Regions from separate parts of the Homo sapiens genome. Here region 2 is linked to region 1. Evidence: promoter capture Hi-C in 16 types of primary human blood cells and fetal thymus (Javierre and others, 2016). All regions are on one chromosome and are shown on one strand. Each heading gives the region's core, a stretch centred on a gene start or on the middle of the fragment in contact. The rest is flanking DNA. Distances are from core to core; before and after follow the strand shown.

Region 1 (3,611 bases), core at 496-2,995:
CAGGCGGCAGTGAGTGCCTGTGACCTGTGCATCACCTCACCTGAGGAACTGGGTGAGGAAGGAGGAGAGGCTATGAGGGTCAGAGATAGGTCCTGCAGAGCCGGGTCTGGTGGGGGCAGCTCAGGGCCTGGGGGGTTCAGGAAGTCTTATCAGCACTGTGGACCTGGGCCCCAGGTATCCCCCCAACCTCTCCAGTCCCCCTTACCCTGTGTCCTCTGACAGGGGCCTAGAGAGCTCAGAATTAGCTGGTCATTCTCAGAGATGCACAGCATTGAGCTGGGGACAGTGTACACAGCTTCTCCCTGTGGGACATGAACTCTGTAGGACAGGCCCGTTTACTCTCATGTCCTGTGGGATATGACCCTTGCCCAACTCCTCACCCTGACATCTCCCAAGCAAATCCCCAGACTGACCGTGGCCTTGCATCGTGAGGCAGCCCAGTGGGTGACAGGGGGTGCTGTGCAAGGGCCCTCCAGTGTCAGGCAGCTTTCAGCCAGGCACACGAGTGCCCCCTGATGCTCCTGGTCCTCCCGCATTTCATCCAGAAGCTGGGACAGTGATAGGCCTGGGGACAGGGGACCATGGGATGAGTCAAGGCTTAAAGGGGAGGACCAGGAGGGTGAGGGGGAAGACAGCTTATTGAGGAAGCATAAGGTTAAGGCTGGAGAGATCACTGCACAGCGTGTTAGGATCACTGGTCAAGCTCTACAGTACCTGCATTGGACGAGGTGGACTCTGAAAGGTGCTCCCTACAGGAAGAGAGTGGCCAGGACTCAGGAACCATGCTGAGGCCTGTCTACCTAGATACACCATCCCCTCACCAAACAACACGTGGCCCCCGAGCCCAACCCCAGACTCACTCAAGGCAGTCATAGAGCTTTTTCTGAACATCTAAGTCTTGGTTGCTAAGAAAAAGAGAAGGGTAGTTAATGGGGGCCCAAGCCCTCCTACCCCATAGGCGTCTGCCAGCGCCGGCCAGGCTGGGGTGGGGAGAGCTGCTGGAGGGCGGAGGCATCACTTACCAACCAGGCACCCGTAGCCGGGGCTGCTCCGTGGGCAGCAGGCTGAAGCGGTCCACCTGGAGATAGAACTCTGCGGGCTGGAGGAGTTCGGGGGGAAGGGGGGGTCTCAGAATCGTCACGAAGAGTCATGCCCGGTAACCCGCCCAAGGCAGTCTCACCACTCACCGCGCCGCCCTCAGCGACCTGGACATGAACCCCGCAGTCCTGCAGCAGCAGCAGCCGGCCCTCTGTCCCGCGGAAGCCGAACTCCTTCTCCTCCCTGCAACAAGCAGGATCCTCACTGCCGGGCCCACCTGAACACAAGGCCCGCCCACCTCGCGCTCTCCTGCCGGACTCCGACCTCCAGAGCCGCGCGGGGCCTCTCACCAGTCCGAGGTGTCCAGGGCCTCCCGCGTCACCAGGCATCGGACACTGTGGGTCCCGTCAGACACAAGCAGCGTGGCCCCGACGTCGGACGTATCAGGGGCGTGGGATGGGCCCGCGACCGCGGCCTCGGCGTCCTGTAGTACCTGACGGCGGCGAGCGGCGTCAATCCCACCACCCCGGGCCTCCGCCTCGGTCTCCGGGCCCTGAATGGGGGCTCACCTCAAGCAGCTGCCCGGCTCGTGGACTGGAGGGTGTCTCTGACCCCAGAATCAGCTCCCGAATCCAGGGCCGTAGGACCAGCCTCCCCGAACCTGCCATCCCCACGGCTACACCCAGCGGATGCAACGGGCCCGGGTTTCCCGCGGGCGCCCAGGCCCCGCCTTTCCTCGGAAGAGGAAGCTCCTTCGCTGGGCGGGGCCGGAGGAGGAGGCCCCGCCCACGTACACCCCGCGCCTGCGCACGAGGGCGTCCTGCTCGGGGGCCTGTGTGCAGACTCCCGCTGGTCCACCCCGCTGGTGCACGGGATGCTGGCCCGTTTACTCTCATCGCGGCGTCACTCTGACAGCGGCCAGGCATTTGGGCCGTTCGTCAAGATTCCTGTGGTACCGGTAGGGAACAGAACAAGGGCTGGTCCCGTCCCTGGAGAGGGTTCCAGGGCCGGAGGCTGAGGCCGAGTGCCGTCCGAGCGAGTTGACTCGAAACCATTTCAGCACCGTGTGACCCCCGAACGGTTCAGCACATATTTATTATGACTCAGTTTCCTCATCTACACAGTGCACGGTCTTGTAAGGCCAGTGGAAATAAGAGCACACACACAGCGCTAAATAAATGGTACTTCCTTCGCCCTCCCCTCGGATTGGCGGAGCCCTGCTCCCCAGACTCCGGGGGCGCGCGGACCTCAGCGTGATGACGCAAGAGCGGAGGACGGCTCCTCTCCATCCACGGCTCCGTTTCCTAGGAAACGTGGACTCCGCGTTCCACTCTGCGTCGCTGCCCCCTTGACGTCACGCTCCGGATGGGAAGGCGGGGCGTGTGCTACCGCCAGGGGCGGGGCGGCGCGGGCGGGCCGGCCGGGCTGTGCACCTGCGCCTCGGCGGGCCGCCTGGGGCACCGTCCCCGGCCCGCCCGGCCCCGCCATGGCCCGGCCGCAGAGGACTCCGGCGCGCAGTCCCGATAGCATCGTCGAGGTGAAGAGCAAAGTAAGGGCTCCTCCGGCCTCGGCCCTAGGCGCTCCCAATTCCCTCTTTCTCCCCTTCCCAGCTCCTTGGTCCCCGCCACCTCTTCCCTCTATCCTCCAAGTCCCATTCTGCTTTTCTGCTCGCCTTCCCCCATCCGTCTTCCTTCCTCCACTGCTGGTCTCCAGCTCTCTGTGGCCTGAGTACCTGGAGGGCGGTAAGAAGACCTTGGACAGCGTCCCTGGTACTGGAGCTGAGGTCTGGGCTTAAGGCTGCCGCAAAAGCGGCAGCCGCATCTTTCCCATTCCTGCCAGCCTGCGGTGAGAAAGGGGCGCAGGCTGTCCTGACTCCTCCTCTCCCCCAACCCCGACTTCCAGTTTGACGCCGAGTTCCGACGCTTCGCGCTGCCTCGCGCTTCGGTGAGCGGCTTCCAGGAGTTCTCGCGGTTGCTGCGGGCGGTGCACCAGATCCCGGGCCTGGACGTGCTACTTGGCTATACGGATGCTCATGGCGACCTGCTGCCCCTCACCAACGACGACAGCCTGCACCGGGCCCTGGCCAGCGGGCCCCCGCCACTGCGCCTACTGGTGCAGAAGCGGGGTGAGGAGGGGTACAGTGGGCAGCCTCTGTGGGGTAAGGTGTCTGTGGGGCAGGTCTACAAGGGTTAGTCCATGCCCAGGGTACCCAAGCGTCACCCTCTGCAGTCCCTGCCCTTGGCTTGACCTCTAAGTGGTAGGAAATAGCTACAGTGCCCCCTGTAAACAGCCCAAGTCGGGGAGCAGGTCTCTGATCTCAACATCCCCCCTCTTCTGCAGCAGAAGCTGACTCCAGCGGCCTGGCTTTTGCCTCCAACTCTCTGCAGCGGCGCAAGAAAGGGCTCTTGCTGCGGCCAGTGGCACCCCTGCGCACCCGGCCACCCTTGCTAATCAGCCTGCCCCAAGATTTCCGCCAGGTTTCCTCAGTCATAGACGTGGACCTACTGCCTGAGACCCACCGACGGGTGCGGCTGCACAAGCATGGTTCAGACCGCCCCCTGGGCTTCTACATC
Region 2 (3,831 bases), core at 1,067-3,566, 410 kb before region 1:
CCTAGTGTGCCACCTCCATATCCCTGTGGGGGAGGGAAGGCAGTCCTCAGGTACTCCAGGTGGGAGAACATGAAATCGGGGAGACCAGGAAGGACTGCATTGGGGATGAGGAACTTATATTCTTCACCGGAGCTCAGTAGTGTCCTCAGCTAAGGAGCAGGGAACACAGGGCAGAGCACCTGGTAGGGTTGGGTGGGGACACGGGTCCCATGAGAGGGAGATAGAAGGAGTGGTTCTGAGCCTCTTTCTTGCAGCTGACTTCCCAGGCTTGCCCCCAGCTGGGAAGAGGTGTGTCAAGGGGCTGGGCATGGTGGCTCAAGCCTTAATCCCAGCACTTTGGGAGGCTTAGGCAGGCAGATCACCTGAGGTCAGGAGTTTGAGACCAGGCTGGCCAACACGGAGAAACCCTGTCCCTACTAAAAATACAAAAATTACCTGAGTATGGTGGCGCACACCTGTAATCCCAGCTATTTGGAAGGCTGAGGCACGAGAATTGCTAGAACCCGGGAGGTGGAGGTTGCAGTGAGCCAAGATAGCCCCACTGTACTCCAGCCTGGGAGACAGAGCCAGAATCCGTCTTAAAAAAAAAAAAATCGGGGGGGTGGTGTCAGGGCTAGGTCCAATCCTTGAGTTGCAGGATGAGAGGAATACAATATATTCTCTAGTGCCCCACCCTTATTTCAGGATCCGGACTTTAGGAGCCTGGAAGCGGGAACCAGTCTTAGTTCAGCACTCCTGTCTTCCCAGCCCCCATCCTGAATGGGAGGTGGCCTCCAGCTGCACACGCTTCTTCCAGGCACACCTCAATTTGCCCCTCTGAATAGGGCAAGAGAAGCGGGGGCTGAGTCAAAACTGGCGGTGAGCAGTGTCCTGCATCCTTCCAGCCATGGCCTTGAAGCCGGGGTTCTGGCCTGGACACGTGCCACTCTCCAGGCCAATAGTCTCACCACCCCTCCCGCCAGCGCTCAGAGGCGGGGCTGGCCGCAGCGCGAGGAATGCGGGCTGGGGGCCCGGGGCACATTCCAGGGAAGACCCCAGGCCCAAGGGGCAAGTTTACGCAACTCGCCGCCCAGCTGAGGCTGGGAGCAGGGGAGGGCACCCACCCCGACTCTCTCTCCTCTTCTCCAGCACTGGAGGCGGCCGGGCTGGTGGGGAGCTTGTGGAGGTGGTAGTGCGCCTCCCAGAGTCCTGGCCCGGAAACAGCGCGCCGGAAAGGGCTGCCTGCGGGGGGCTGACGGCGGCGAGAGGGAGGGGAGAGGAGGTAGGCTGGCCATCTGGAAAAGGGCCTCTTTCCGCACTGTGCACAAGTCCGCTTCGGGGCGGCAGCAAAGTAGGGCAGGCCGGCTGTTTAAAATTAGTCCGGCCCTCCCTCTCACTTTCAGGCGCGGGCCGATGGGCGGCGAGTGTCCGGGGGTGGGGGCGGGAGCGGTGACTCAAAGGGCTTTTACACCCGTGCAGCCTCCTGCGCTCTGCGGATCCCGGGCCAGACCGCTTCGCGGGGACTCCCCTCACCCCGTGAAGTCTCTCCTCGGCCGGCACTCCCATACTCCCATTGACCTACAGGGTCAAGCCCCAATCCAGCTTCCTGACACCGCAGGAAACCTCTGCCACCTCTAGTAGTCCGCCTCGGGCCCGCCCCTCCTCGTGGTCCCGCCCCCACCTCACCTGAAGCAGGTGGAAGCTGGTCCCTCCCCAGCTCCGCCTCCAGGGTCCGCTACAGCCCAAGCGGCTACCGTCACTCTGACCAGGGAAGCCACCCTGGCAGACCGACGGCGAGTGGAACTCGAGCACCTCCCCAGGTGCGCCTAATTCGAAGGGCAGTCAGAATGGCGGAGCCAAGTTCCTGGCACCCCTCTTCAGTTTCCCCTCAACTTGAGAGGGGACTCCCCCGCAGGCGGGGCAGAGTGGACCCTGGGACCCCAGCCCAAGACTTTTCCGGAGAAGAACACTCGCTCCAGCCTCTTCCCGCGGAGCACCTCCCACCAGTTTTCATGGCGCCCACCCTGAACCCCCGATCGCCCCAACCTTTCTCCGGCCTCCCTCACCTTGAGCGGCGCTCCCAGCAGGCGGTGCACCGCGGGTATCTGCGCGCCCAAGGGCAGCGCCCCGTCCAGGCTGCAGGTGGGGGCCCGGCGCGGCTCCGGAAAGTTGGCACATGCGAAGGGGTCGGTGTCTTCCAGGTACTGCACCCTCACGGTCACCACTGATACCGGCTCTCCGTCCCCGCGGTCTTCCCCGCCCGCCATGGCTCTGCGGCCGGCTCACGCAGCGCGCCTCCGAGTCCCGGCCCCAGTGCAGCTTCTACTCAAAGCACACTGTAGCTCCGCGGTTCGGGCCCGGCCGGACCGGACGCGGCTGGAGGGGCGGGGCCAGACGGAGGCGGGGCCGAGGAAGGGGGTGGAGCCAAGATTAGTCCCCGAGTGCGCGCCAGGAGGTAACCACTGCCGGAGGCGGGGCCGCCGCTAGCCACTCACAGGGCCCAATGGGAATCCCGTTAGTTCACTGGCTAGGAGGGCGGGAAAAACCGAGCTCGCGCCCCACCTTCGAGAACGCGCAGAAGGCGGGGAGGCTTTCTTTGGTCTGGGGATAGTGAGGCTGCGTTCTCTTTGAGGGGTGTTAGGGCAGATGGGGCAGAAGTTTCTTTAGATAGTGGCCGGCCAGGTCTCTCTCAGTTGAGGGACAAGATAGCCCTCATTCCTTCCATTTGAGGGGTGAGTCCCTGTGGTTTCCTCATTTAGGGAAAGCAGTGAGAGGGGGTCCCTTCAATTTGGAGCAAGAAGTGAGAATAAATTCCACCCAGTTTGAAGGAAGAGGTGGGATCAGTTCCCTTTAGTTGTGGGAGGAAGAGGGAAGGATGCCCTTCAGTTTTCTGGGAAAAGATTGGGAGGAGTCAGTTTGAGGGGGCAGATAGAACACGTTCCCCTCAGTTTTGGAGAAAAAGTGGGATGGGTGCCCCTCAGCCTGAATGAAAAGTGGAGACGGTCCTCCTCTGTTTGGGGCGCTATGAGCCGAATGCCCCTCAGATTTGGAAAAAGTTGGGTGCATCTCGCCTAGTTTGAAGGGAATCAGTAGGCTGGGTTTTCCATAGGTTCCTGTCAGCTTCATCAAAGAGATGAGACAGTTCTCTGTAGTGTGACTGAAAGGGAGGGCCAGGTGCCCCTTGGTTTGGGAGATGAAGAACAGCCTCCCTCTTCGCCTGGCACGAGCTGGGCCAGTCTGGGCCTTAGGGTTTCTGGGACGTTGGGGGCAGCGTTGTCCGTCACTGCTTTGGGGAGCGTCCAGTGCGCGTGCGCAGCTCAGGTCCGGGTGGGGGCCGGCAGGGGGTCCTGGGCTTGGCAACGTGGGCGGAGGGCGGCCAAGCACGGTCCCCTGCGTTTTGCACCCGGCCGCGCCTTGGTCCCAGGGGGGTGCTGCTCGCCGCACAGCAGCGCTGGCCGAGGAGGAGCCGTGCCCCTCCCGTCCTGACCGCGCCCCCCGCAGACCCCCGCCCTTCCCGCTGCGGGCTGCCCCAGGGGGGCCGTGGCCGCGCACCGCTCTGGATCTGGTGGGGGCGGTTTTGGGGAGGTTTGGGGGCGCGGACTCGAAGGAGTAGGTTGTGGAACTTGGGGGAGAGCTGCACTGGGGAATTTCCGGAGCTGGGACTGATTTAGGGAGGAAAGAGGAGAGAGTCCCCGACTACGAGAGTCCGAGGCAGGGTCTCGGAGCCTGGACCTGGCTTGGGGGTATCGGAGCCGGGATTGGGGGGAGCGGGCCCCACGTGCCTGTGACGCGGGGGCGCCCGGTAGGTGGCGGCGGCGACGCGGGGCCGGCGGCCGTGCGGTGCCGGGAGGG

Evidence for each region. The method cuts DNA at HindIII sites, captures the fragments that hold promoters and counts their contacts. A CHiCAGO score of 5 or more calls a contact.
Region 2: a contact is called between the fragment with the promoter of FHOD1 here and the fragment with the promoter of ACD in region 1, in 7 of 17 cell types (neutrophils, erythroblasts, naive CD8 T cells and 4 more). The highest score is 8.5, in neutrophils.

The regions. Positions count from the first base shown.
Region 1 is chr16:67,658,515-67,662,125 of GRCh38, forward strand. ACD (ACD shelterin complex subunit and telomerase recruitment factor) reads right to left here and starts at 1,746. Exons shown (of 12, transcript NM_001082486.2): 1 at 1,608-1,746; 2 at 1,389-1,531; 3 at 1,188-1,281; 4 at 1,023-1,099; 5 at 861-905; 6 at 715-749; 7 at 414-565; 8 at 206-302; 9 at 41-127. The coding sequence starts at 1,706. PARD6A (par-6 family cell polarity regulator alpha) reads left to right here and starts at 2,446. Exons shown (of 3, transcript NM_001037281.2): 1 at 2,446-2,587; 2 at 2,941-3,163; 3 at 3,382-3,611. The coding sequence starts at 2,525. RefSeq lists an enhancer at 1,076-1,659 and silencers at 1,813-1,922, 2,233-2,712. The HindIII fragment of the contact is 13,736 bases long and covers 1-3,611 here.
Region 2 is chr16:67,245,165-67,248,995 of GRCh38, forward strand. It overlaps FHOD1 (formin homology 2 domain containing 1), which reads right to left and starts at 2,317. Exons shown (of 22, transcript NM_013241.3): 1 at 2,046-2,317. The coding sequence starts at 2,246. It overlaps SLC9A5 (solute carrier family 9 member A5), which reads left to right and starts at 3,815. Exons shown (of 16, transcript NM_004594.3): 1 at 3,815-3,831. RefSeq lists enhancers at 492-1,151, 3,552-3,831 and silencers at 1,255-1,354, 2,255-2,624, 3,267-3,356, 3,377-3,466, 3,767-3,831. The HindIII fragment of the contact is 13,502 bases long and covers 1-3,831 here.